Linked DNA regions of Homo sapiens: regions 1 and 2 are each linked to region 3. The links are contacts of gene promoters, found by promoter capture Hi-C in human tissues and cell types (Jung and others, 2019). All regions are on one chromosome and are shown on one strand. Each heading gives the region's core, a stretch centred on a gene start or on the middle of the fragment in contact. The rest is flanking DNA. Distances are from core to core; before and after follow the strand shown. Region 1 overlaps PPP3CA (protein phosphatase 3 catalytic subunit alpha). Region 2 overlaps BANK1 (B cell scaffold protein with ankyrin repeats 1). Region 3 holds the start of CISD2 (CDGSH iron sulfur domain 2).

Region 1 (4,444 bases), core at 1,598-4,097, 1.6 Mb after region 3:
ACTGTTCAGAAACAAAAGCAAGTTACAAGCTTTGTGGGTGTTAATGTCTTCATGTGTAAAAAACCAGAAAATTGAATTAGATATATCCTAAGGTTTTTTCCAAGCTTTTAAATTCCATGATTCTGTGACCCAGGAGGTGTCCAGGAGTCATGTGAGTAAACTTTTAAGTTTTGAAGTAACGTTAACTCCAAGACTTGAAACCCTTGAAATTGGCTAGAAATCCTATACAAGATTTCCAGAAAGTTACCGTTATACTTCCTGATTACGCTTATGGATACAAATATAAAGCAAACAATAACCAAAGACACATAAAACAAACCCTGATTCTAGCAGTTTACGAAAAGAGGAAATTTATTAGAAGGTTCTGGGGGATCATTGTCCAGTAGAACTTTCTGTGATGAGGAAAATGTTTAGAGAATCTGAGCTATCCAGCATGGTAGTCAATAGTCATATGTGACTATTTAGCACTTGAAATATGTCTAGTTCAACTACAAGACTCGATTTTACATTTTATTTAGTTTTAATTAATTTAAATGTAAACTTTTAAGATTTAAAGGAATCCTGGGAGTAACCGAAACGTCGGTCTTGAGAAGAATAGGAAGAAACCAGGGTGGCCTTAGGAACTAAGAACTGCTTTGGAAGCAGTAGTGGTGTGTTCTTCAGAGTCATACCATGACTTAGTTATTAGTGGTACCCAACCTGGATTTATCAGATAACAATGGCATCTTCCAGGGAGAGAAAATCTGATTGTCTTTACATGAGTTTGGTGTCTACCCTCCAAATCAATCAACTGTAGGTTGGGTTGCAGAATGATTGCGTACCTGCCAGAGTGCTGACAGTTCCCAGGGAAGGAGGAAGTGGAGCCAGGCAGCAGTCTTAAGAGCGGTTTGCCACATTACTTAAGAGAAATATGTTTTTCCCTGCAAGCACTGATTTTTCTAACTTTAAAATACTCTTATTTTGTTAATTTACTTGTATTGCACCTGACTTATTTACCTTTTTTATTGCTAATTAAAAATACCACTCTATGTTGAGTAAACTTTTACTAACCTGAGAGACTAATGATTTATAACATTGTGTAGAAGGAAATCAAAGAACATTATAGCCAAAAGCAACAATATGAGCCATGCTAGACAATGCTCTCTTGTTACAGAGAGTATTGATACCAAGGCTTAGATGTTTTGCTATTTCAAGTCACGAAATTATTTGCCACATTAGGGATAGATACTTGCTTTAATCTGAACCTATGTTGTTGACCAGCTACATGTTAAAACCAAGTGTTTGAAAACCATCTTTTTGAAATTTGACGCTTTCCCGTAAATTTTTATTTTCCTGTAAAGTGGTAATACTAATAATTTGTGAGAAAACTGAGTAGTGCAGGTTTTGATTTTGAAGGGTTTTTTGTTTTGTTTTACATTTTTAAAACATGAAGAAAGAGCTTTGATTGAGAATGTGTTAATTGTATTATGTGAACCTATAAAATTAACTCTTATTATTTAATACATATGAACCAAATAATACTTGACCCAGATAAGTGAAGGATAGATAGAAAAGAAAGGCATTTACTTAAAATGGCTGCTTATTTTATCAAAGTTAGATTTCAAATTAGAGTTGGATGAGCTGTTTTAAAAGTCCATGCTAAATATGTTGGGGACTGCCCCGGAAACAGGTTTTCCTCCTCTGTGTAAATCAGCCATGTTTCTGTGGTGCGAGGTGGGTGGGAGCCTTGCTTTACTTCCTGCATCTCAGCAGGCTCAGGAAGGGAAGCTTGCTAGGGTGTTTAAGCAGCCACATGCATTATGTTAAATTAATTCTACCCCAGTCTTTGGACATCTATTGACAATAGTATTATTTGGGTTGCAAAATCAACAAGTGAATAGACCAAAGAAGAAATGGGGAAGAACCCAGAATGAGTGTGAGTCAAACACTACCTTGACACAGGAAGCCAGGACTAGAAGCCCTGAGATCAGTCCAATCCAGGGAATATGCTGACTGCGCTGTCATTTAGAACAGGCCAGTGGAATTCAGGACCTATCAGGTAAGTCCATGTCTTACCAACTTAAAGCAATCTTCTGGGAAGAGGTCTGGACCTGTATCTAACATGAATTGTAGTGAGGTCTGTCCATCACATTTCACTCATCTAATCACCTTTGTCATTCTTCTGGTTTTCACAGATAGGATAGAAAAACTGTAGTTTTTTTCTGTTGCCACTTAGCTCTTGGTTGCAGGGGCCTCTAGGTAGGTGTGAAGTGGTTATCAAGGCTTTGACTGTCAAAAACACTTCTACTCAAAATTGGCCTTAGCAGTTAAGCCAGATTTAAAATGATTTTGGTAGTGGATTATCTAAGCTCATATAGAATAACTGCAAGTCACTTTCAAACTTGCCATAGATGCGAAGATAATATATTCTCATTTTCTGGACTAGCTTTTCCCAGGAAAAGGTATGGGGTGGAGGGATATCAAATATCAATTTTTGTAGATATGGAAAGCTCCATGAATGTGTATTTATAGGCCCCCTGAGGTCTAACTGAATGTATGTTGAATGCAGATTCTTCTGTTTTCCTCCCCAGGTTTGTCATTTGGCAACTAGTACAGGAAAAAGACCCTCAATAACTAGCAAGTCTGTCTTTGTTATATGTAGACAAGCATTTTGATTAATTTAGGGAGGATGCTTTTTTCACTATATAAAATTAAAATGAAATTATGGAAGAACCTAGTTTGTTTTCTTACTTGAGTTGAATGCTGTTTAACCACTTTCTTATTACATTCGATTGACTTAGTTGAGTTGGATGCTGAATGTTTAACCACTTTCTTATTACATTTGATTGACTTAAAAACCATCTGTAGCATAGCCTAAATAACTTAAGACTTTCAGAAAGTTGTGGCAAATTTTTTTGATACATTCTCATTCATAGCCAACTCAATTATATTAACTTTTTATACAAATCAAATTATATTATAATCCATACACATTAAATTTCACTTAGACCAAAGAAGAGCCAAGGCTTCTTTACTGGATCTCACCCCCTCTTACGTATTTAAGAGCATTGCCCCAGGAAGTCCTCTTTTCTGCATCAGCATTTTCTATTCTTTGTTGGATCATACTCATTAGCAGAAGATGCCATAGTTTTTACTGTCTTGAAATAATAAAGCTTCTCCTGAGCCCATGTTCTTATCCAGCTACTGCTGCATTTCTCTTCAGAGCAAAACTCTCCAAAAGAATTATGTACGTTCACTGTCTCAAATTGCTCTTCTCCCATTCTTCCTTGAACCCTCTCCAAAGCTTTTCCTCATTCACTGCTTCAGAGCCTTCTTTTGTCAAAGTCTCCAATAACCTCAGTGTTGTCAGGTTGAATAGCAGGCTCATCTAATTTGACTTAGCATAGCATTTAACACAGCTGATCACACTGTCTCTCCCGGAACACATTCTTCTCTGGAGTACTTGCAAATCACATGCTCTTGGTTCTCCTCCTGCATCATAGGCTGTTCTCTCTCAGTCATTTTTTTTTCCTATTTCTTCTTTGTTTCTCCAGTCTCTAACCATTTAACCATTGGAATGCCCCCTTCTCTTTTCTATATAATGCATTTGTGGAGTGAGCTCAAGCATTCTTCTTTTATGTATGACACTGATGGTTTCCAGTTTTTTTTTTTTTTTTTGAGACTGAGTCTGGCTCTGTCACCCAGGCTGGAGTGCAATGAGGTGATCTCAGCTCACTGCAGCCTCTGCCTCCTGGGTTCAAGTGATTCTCCAGCCTCAGCCTCCCAAGTAGCTGGAACTGCAGGTGCATGCCACCATGCCCGGCTAATTTTTGTATTTTTAGTAGAGATGGGGTTTCACTATGTTGGCTAGGCCGGTCTCGAACTCCTGACCTCAGGTGATCCACCCGCCTCGGCCTCCTACAGTGCTGGGATTACAGGCATGAGCCACCACACCTGGTCCGTTTCCAGTTTTTATCTACAGTTTGAATCTTTCCTCAGTGCCTCTAGTCTCATATATACAAAATACCTGCTTAACACTTTCACTTGCCTGTCTAAATTAACTTGTCCACACTCAGACTCTTGCTTTCCCTTGTTCTTTCTGAGCAGTAATGGTGGCCTTCTTGATATTTATTTAAAAAAGAAAACAGATTCACAGCTCAAGGCCTTTATATTTGCTATTACCTCTGTTTGCCATGCTTTTCTCCCAGATACCCACATGGCTTAGTCTCCCCACCTCCTTACGTCTGCTCAAATATCACTATTCTCAATCTGGCTACTTTTTCTTCTTAATTTTCTCTCTAATGCTTATTTGACATGCCGTATATTTGTCTGTTTATTGCTTTACATTCCAAGAATATATGCTCTAAGAGGGCAGTGACTTTTGTCCATTTTATTCGCTAATGTGTTCCCATTTCTTACTACAGTGCCTGGTCCATAGTAAGTGCTCAATTAATATACATTGAGG
Region 2 (4,403 bases), core at 1,521-4,020, 1.0 Mb after region 3:
CATTTTCATCATGAGAGACACATGAAGGAGCCATAGAACTCAACAGTAAGAATCTATATGCATTAGACAACCACAGCTATGATCTTAGAGAAGAGGGACTATTTGACTTATTAAGAAACTGCAAGAGAGACATTCCCAGCGAATAAGGAATTTCCCAAAACTCAGAAATTTGCTCCAAAAAAAATAGCCAACTTTTAATCTGGTGTGGCCAAGATAAAATGATAGCTTCACTCCTTCCCTTTAAGCCATGAAACCATAGTTAGAAGACTGGGAGTTGAGAGCAAAGGGCAGACTAAGGAAACCAGGGAAGCAGCTGACCACAGCACCCCTTTCACACCTAGCAGAATAAAACTGTGGAAGGGAGAAGCTTTAACATTGTAAGCTGCAGCATTTTTATTATTACATGGAAATGTAATTAATTAATTAATGGGACCTGGTATTTTCTTTTATCTAAAGGTTACATGCTTAAAATTTTAAAAGCTCTGTAATTGTAACCCAGACCTTCAAACCTTGAACTGCTACTGACTGGTAACACCACTAGAGTATATTAACTCATGCCTCACCAGTTACATAAGAAACCAGCTTCCAGAACCAAACTGTCATATGACTTGAGCATACCATACTTGTTCTGCCATGATCTCATCCAGGCTGCCCTAAAGAATATATTTATAAGCCATGTTTAGAACAAGGAATAAGCCTTGATTGGAATAGAGCTAAAAATTAAGAAACTTAATGTATTTTGTGGACAGTACAACATACTGTTGAATAAAATCAGCTCTCATTTTTCTTATTCCTATCCTGACACCAGTTATTGGTTCTAAAACAACTTGCAATTCTTTAATTACAAAAAAAAAAAAACAAATAAAAATAAAACAAACAAGGTTTGGCAACACTACCTTTGAATATGATACTCTGGATTACAGAGATGTAGTCTTCAGGTTCCTGTTCAGTTGAGATCTCCCATCTGCTTTGAGAGATATTTAGTAATTCATAGAGCTGATCTGAACTCTTCACTCCACAAAGCAAAGTAACTACACTTTTTGGTGAATGAAGTATCTTTTCCAGAAACTGACATTTCTTTGGAGTTAGGTCTCTAAGCAGGCTATTTGATAATATCAAAAGTTTACATTTGTAAGACGTTAAGTTCAGCAACTCCAAATGCCGAAAAGAGAAATTCTCCAAGCGATATAACAGGATGGCTTCCCTTTTCACAACATGTAAAAATACTTCTGTCAAGTACAGAGCCCATTCCTCAGCATCTTCTTCATATATCATTATTATATCTTTTGTATTTCCTGGAAAAAGAAAAAATATTTTCTTATATTTGCAATGCTATCAGCAGGTTAAATTATTATTTCTCAAAAATTTTAATATGCTCACTAGGCAATATATTAATTTGCTTATACCAGAGAAAAACTCTATGAAAGTCCTTCATAGTATAAAAAATCATAGATTAAATAAAACTAGAATTCAAAGACAAGTTGATTTAAATTTTAAAAAGAATGATATGAAAGAGTATAATAAATAAGGAAACGAGCCAAAACAATACCATTACCCAGATAATAAATAAATTAGAAAAAGAAATAAGTAGATTAGACATAGATAATGTTATAGATAATATTTTAATTTCTGGCCCAAAAGAAAAGCTTGATATTTTCATAGTAAATCAAAAAAAAACAAAGGAGGAGAAACAGAACAAGGCTAACACAATTGTTGAAAATACGATATATTTAGTTGAGAGTCAAAAACAGAAAAGATTCAGTATAAGGATGATCCAAAAGCCTGACGTAGAAGAGAATAATATACACATTAAAACACTGTAAAACATGTAATTTTTAATAATTTTTAAAATCCTTGAAATAAGAAAGATAAAGGAACCAGCTCTATGGATCAATGTGAAACAATCAGGCTCCAGCTAAAACTGTTAAAGAAAACAGATCTTGCCCGGCGCGGTGGCTCACACCTGTAATCCCAGCACTTTGGGAGGCTGAGGCGGGCTGATCACGAGGTCAGGAGATCGAGACCATTCTAGCTAACACAGTGAAACCCCATCTCTACTAAAAATACAAAAAATTAGCTGGGTGTGGTGGTGGGTGCCTGTAGTCCCAGGCACTTGGGAGGCTGAGTCAGGAGAATGGCTTGAACCCAGGAGGCGGAGTTTGCAGTGAGCGGAGATTATGCCACTGCACTCCAGCCTGGGCAACAGAGTGAGACTCTGTCTCAAAAAAAAAAGAAGAGAAAACAGATCTTGATTAAATTGTCCTTAACTTAATGATAATTATAAAATTTCTTCACATATCCAGGAAAGAAAACAAAGTCACCACAATAAGAGAAATGTGAGGTTGGTCTTGATTTCTTTAGAGCATTTTCAAGGCCAGATGAATTATAAGAAAATTTTTACAAAACTAATTTTCACAGTATATTCATACTATAAAATATTGCATAACAATGAAAAAGAATGTAACAATGCTACATGCAACATGGATGAATCGAAAGACATAATATTGAGTGAAAGAAGAAAGAGTATATATTGCATAATTGTATTTATGTAAAGTTCCAAAGCAGAAAACTTGATTCACAGTGATACAGATCTGAATATTTTAGGGTAGAATTAACAAAATAGGTATGAGAGAGCCTGCTGGAGTTCTGGATATGGTCTATATCTTGATCTAGGTGGTAGATATATATGGAGATATATATATATATATATATATATATAAATTCACTCATCTACATATCTTAGATTGTGTTTGTAAGTTATACTGCAATACACCTGCAAAAGCTATATGACTTGGGGAGGGAAAGACATAGGAAATAAATAAAGCATTTGTAACATTATCACATGTATTTGAAAATTAGAGAAAATATGCTAATAATGGAGGTTGGACAGGTCTAATAGGGCATTTACAAAAAGAATTAAAGATAGGTACATTTCAATATTTTGCATAAAAAACAAAAATGAAGTAAATATTAATTCTGGAAAAAAGCCCCAAAATTTATGAAAGAAAGCAGGATAATTATAGACTATTTGGAACAATAGTGTGCATGTGTTTATAGTTATAATAATATAAAAATTGATTAATTAATGACAAGTTGAGATTTAAATATCCTGGAGAATAAGAGAAGAGTCAGACTAACAAAAGTATACAAATACTTATCTTATGTTTTATAGGAAGACAATAGATAATAGCTAAAATTAGTAAATCAAGAAATCATAATATAAATGTATCTTTTTGAAATATGCAAAGGAATAAAAAAAGAAACTTTGAAAAAACTATGGCTTTTAAGGTTCTTAGAAGTGTGGAATAGTATTTGGGGAAAGGGAAAGTGAAGAACTGTTGATTTTCACTATGTTTTATCATTGTTTTATATGAAAGTGTAACTGTAATCAAAATTTAAATAATAGAGGAAAATCCAGCCAAAAAATAGCAGAACCAAAGTAAAGTAAACAGAAATTAAAAAAACTTTGGAAAAAGAATAGGGTGAGTTGAATACACGTACATATAGAACAACAACCAAATGCTGAGGGCATTATGATTGCACTACAAAACGCACATTTTAACTTGATGAAATAAAAGTGATTACACAGTGGGAAAAACTGAGCATTTGGGGAGGAGAAAGTAAAACATTCTAACCTCATCTTTAATAGAATTTAATCCTTTAACACTGCCTAAATTTGAAACATTAATTTAAAATAATGACTTCATTCAATATTTTTTGTATCATTTTTCCCTAAACAATAATAAATAATCTAAAAAGTAGTCAAAGAAATTTTTATCTTAAAATATATCATTAGTTTTACTTTAAATTAACTTTATATTTAAAGATAGCATGTAAACCCAAATCTCATTTTTAATAAAATAGTACCTCCATGCCTATCTACCTAAAATAATTCTATCATTAGCAACAATTGTTTATGTGAGAGAGAGGACTTTGAGAGATATATGGCTTTCTTTTTCTTCACTCTTCCATATTGCTTATATTTTTATAATAAACTTATATTATTTTACAAAACATAATCATTTTTAAAGATCAGTTTGTACAGTATTATCATGAGTACAAAGAGTGAAACGCCAAACTCTTGTCATCTTCTTCCTCTGAAAACAGAGCATGTATTTTCTACACCACTGATGTGGTGAAGAAAACCATAATGATTCTGAGAGCTTTTGTATTTTATTGAATTATTGGGTTTATGTATTTCTGTCTTTTCTCGTGATATAAATATTATCTCTGAGGGCAGATGCTTTATTTTTCAATCCAAATTCCTACACAATGCCAAGCACAATTTCTTGAACAGATATTCAACAACTTTTTTTTACATATTTATGTATGTAGAATGAGAAAAAAACATCTGGCAGAAAACATATGGGAATCACACGTAAGTTGTATATGAATCATCAATA
Region 3 (3,935 bases), core at 228-2,727:
CTCTAGATTTGGAAGAGAATTTGTCATCTAGTTTATCCCTTCTAAATCTATCGACCACCCACCACCAGAGTCTTTTTGTTTGTTTTTTTCATCTTTGAGAGGGGCTATCACTGAAGCACCACATTTGTTTGGGGAAAGCATTCTTTAATTTAAAAAAAAATCTTCCTTAGACTGAAATTCACCTCCCAATAACCTTCACTAATTTGGTTAATTTGTTATCAGTTCTATATTTTAGTCTACACAAATCTTATTTTTCTTCTACCAGACAGCTGTGCGATTGCTGTATTTTAGGTCAGGTACTACAGATCTTTAGAACGTTCCCGGCGAAGCAACCCTATTTACCTCAGAATTATCTTAATTCATGTTTGCACTCCCTGATAACCTAGGACATAGGAGTTCAATACTTGCTGATTCCTTCACCATCCTACTCGGTCTGAGTTCCGTTTAGAAATATCCCCCTTACAATGAAATGCTCATAACTCAACACAATCTCCCAAGTGTTGACTGCATTCTGGAGATTTTCATCCTTTAGATGTGAAATCCTCATGAGTTGTGTGGGTTAAGTGAGGGTCCTTAAGTATAGAACGTTACATATATTCACTAAATTTCATTTTCTAAGATTTCACTCCTCATACCGGCCTTCGAATACTTTCTTGGGTAAGGTATCTTTCTTCCAACTTAAGTTACCGCAGCGGGCCCCGGGACCGTAGAAACGGAGATGACCTCAAATGCCACCTATGATAGGTCAATTCTAACCTGAGGGAATGGAGGTTATCTCCTAATTTCGTTACTAAATAAAACGGTCATATACGTGTTACGTGTAAGTCTATATTTCTCTCCCACACACTCCCACCCACATGCTGAGGGTACAACCCAGCCGGTAGCTGGGGCTGCCTGTTACATGAGGCCTTAGATAACGACGACTTAGCCCGCTTTAAAATAAACAAGTACGCTACAGAGAGCGATGAGCAGGACAGGAGATGAAAGAGACTGGCCTGTTCCCAACTCAGCACCTTCTCTGCAAAAACCTGGTATCTTGCCACGGAATGACACCGGAGACAACTCCGAGGACAAAAGACCCTGGGGCATCAAGCACCCGGAGACTGCCTCACAGGCGTTCCCCAGGCAGCTGCGTCGGCGCGCGCCCACCTTCCTCTGCGCGCGGGGATCACGTGCCAGGCGCCGAGCTCCGTCCCGCCCCTTGGCCCTAGGATTTTTACGCCTCCTTCCCCCGCTTGGCGAACGTGCAAGGATGGGGACTGGCTGATGGGGGAGGATTACCTGTGAGCCTAGCGAACCCGGTAATGCTTTCAGGGACTGGGAGCCGCTTCAGATATGCAGGGAGCTGCACCTTCACGATACGGGCCACGCTCTCCAGCACCATCCTGGCCAGCGGCGTCCACTCCTCTCCCGAGCCCCCTCCGCTCTGGCCAAGCTGCCGCGCCTGCGCCGGGAGCGGAAGCGGCCGGCGGGCACTGGCGGCCTCGGCCTGGGCGGCGGGCGGGGCGGCGGGCCCTGGGAGGAGAGGTGACCTGCCGGGCGCCGATTGGCGGCGGGCGAGTGACGTACGCTCGCGGCGGACTGCCGAGGCGCGGGAACTGGCGGGTAGCGAGGCCCTCCTCGGAATCTCGTGTGAAGGTGGCCCTCCTCTTGGGCCTTTAACGTCTGTAGATGCTGGAGACCAGCAGAAAGGATACTGTGTGCGATGAGATAAGCATGTGAGAATGCTTTCTAACCGAAAGTGCCTTTCAAAAGTGAGTCTCTTGCTGTCTCTACTTCGTCCCCTCTCGCCCCGCCTCTTCCCCTACAGTTTGGGTGCTGTGGCCCTAGGGTTGCATACTCGCCCATGAGTATCCTCCCCCTACCCAGACCCCAGTGCCTAATTTTACTCCTTCACCCAAAGGCCAGGCTTAAAAAAATAAAAATTAAAATATTTTAACTAAACCAGGAACTGTTTACATCTCTGCCCCTTGGCAACTTAACTGCAGCCCTAGCTCCAAAAACCTCTGGTTTTTGCCACTCAGAGAAGATTCGTAGTAGTCCTTCCTTAGATATTTTCAGTTCCTTTTCCTTCGGGAAAGTGGTAAAAGAATCCAAAGCTGGCCGGGCGCGGTGGCTCACGTCTGTAATCCCAGCACTTAGGGAGGCCGAGGCGGGTGGATCACGAGGTCAGGAGTTCGAGGCCAGCCAGGTCAAGATGGTGAAACCCCGTCTCTACTAAAAATAGAAAAATTAGCCGGGCGCGGTGGCAGGTGCCTGTCCCAGCTACTCGGGAGACTGAGGCAGGAGAATCGCTTGAACCAGGGAGGCGGAGGTTGCAGTGAGCCGAGAATGTGCCACTGCACTCTAGCCTGGGAGACAGAGCAAGACTCCGTCACAAAAAAAAAAAAAAAAAAGAATCTAAAGCCTTATGTATGGTTTTCTTTATGTTACAAGGCTTCTGCTGAAGTCTAGCGCAGGGGGTCCTTATGGCTTCCCTAGGCCACACTGGAAGAAGAATTGTCTTGGGCCACACATAAATACACTAACACTAATGGTAGCTAATGAGCTAAAAAAAAATTTTTTTTCATAAAGTTTTAAGAAAGTTTACAGATTTGCATTGAGTGGCATTCAAAGCCATCCTGTTGGGCAAGCTTGATCTTGAAGGTTTTAATTTTGTTGTTGTTGTTGTTGTTACAAGGTTTCGCTCTATCGCCCAGGCTGTAGTGCAGTGGTCAGATCATAGCTCACCGCAGACTCTAACTCCGGCTTAAGGGATCCTTCTGCCTCAGCCTTCCAAGTAGCTGGGTTTACAGGCGTGTGCTGCCACACCCAACGAATTTTAAAAATTTTTGTGTGTATGTAGATGGAGTCCCATTATATCGCCCAGGCTGGATAGTTGTTTTTATTAATATCTCTAAAAGATTTGAAGGGTAAGAGGAGAAAATTTCACTCCCTTGAAATAACTTTCTTGCTATGACTTTGTTTCATATTTTGGCTGAAGTCAAAATGTCCGAAGTTGTGCACTTGCTGATTGGATAATGTGTGTGATATCTTAATAATATGCCTCATTATTTACAGTTCTACACTTAACAACATATAATAACGAACTGCTAATGGTCCAGTATTTCATTGTGTATGACAGTGTAACAGCCAGTTATAATAAATACTTTCCATTTTTCCCCTTGGTATTTTTATTTTACAGTGAGAAAAGGAAGGAATTTTTTAAAGCAATCTTTCATTCTCTGGACTGTATAAATTTAGTGTTTGTGATTGTCCTTCACTAAAAAAGAATATCAGTAATAGAGTTGACCAAAATCTAGATTAAATAATTTTCTATCATTATAATTGTTCAAAATTGTTAAAGTAAAACTTACAATGGAAATTCTACAAACACGTTTAGATACAGGTTCATGTTTTTGAGCTAGGGCAGTATAGAAGATGGTGTATACAAAGTGATGTTTAAAAGGTTGATGGGATTTCCTTTAGAGAGAGTTTGGAGGTAAACCCTGGAGCTTTTTTATCCTGAAGATGATGGAACTTGAATATCCTTGTCCTCTGGACTATTCTGTTAACTGTTATCTTTAATCTCTGTGGATCTAATGTAGAAGCACCCTTGGGTACAACTAGATACCCTAGTTGAGGTAGGGGTAGGTTGGAAGTGGGGTACATTAGGAAAAGAAAATCTGGAAAAGGCCATTACCTATTCGTTTCTTCTCTTAGAGGATCTGTCATCTTGACAAGGGCAAGACGTGCTGTGTTGAGTTTAATTTTTCCCCTTGGTATTTTAAAGTGAGAAAAGGAAAGAATTTTTTTAAAGCAACTTTACATTCTCTGGACTGTATAAATTTAATGTTTGTGATTGTTGTGCATTAAGAATAAGACCTCCAAGCAGTTTTTCTTTAAAGAATTAAAAAATACATACCTCAATTTAAAGATATAGTAAAATGCTCAAA

Evidence for each region. Contacts are between HindIII fragments. The study calls those that stand out against the background at their distance.
Region 1: a contact is called between a fragment that was not itself captured here and the fragment with the promoter of CISD2 in region 3, in 1 of the 25 tissues and cell types used here (heart left ventricle).
Region 2: a contact is called between a fragment that was not itself captured here and the fragment with the promoter of CISD2 in region 3, in 1 of the 25 tissues and cell types used here (pancreas).

Annotation. Positions count from the first base shown.
Region 1 is chr4:101,280,033-101,284,476 of GRCh38, reverse strand. All of the region lies in intron 1 of PPP3CA (protein phosphatase 3 catalytic subunit alpha), which reads left to right. Among named protein-coding and RNA genes, the nearest start is that of MIR8066, 41 kb to the right of the region's middle. The HindIII fragment of the contact is 3,822 bases long and covers 937-4,444 here.
Region 2 is chr4:101,826,700-101,831,102 of GRCh38, reverse strand. BANK1 (B cell scaffold protein with ankyrin repeats 1) reads right to left here. Exons shown (of 17, transcript NM_017935.5): 2 at 897-1,295. Among named protein-coding and RNA genes, the nearest start is that of BANK1, 38 kb to the right of the region's middle. The HindIII fragment of the contact is 3,526 bases long and covers 1,008-4,403 here.
Region 3 is chr4:102,866,534-102,870,468 of GRCh38, reverse strand. It overlaps CISD2 (CDGSH iron sulfur domain 2), which reads right to left and starts at 1,477. Exons shown (of 3, transcript NM_001008388.5): 1 at 1,282-1,477. The coding sequence starts at 1,384. It also overlaps a transcript of UBE2D3 not described here. RefSeq lists silencers at 1,217-1,336, 1,367-1,656 and an enhancer at 1,887-2,026. The HindIII fragment of the contact is 16,318 bases long and covers 1-3,935 here.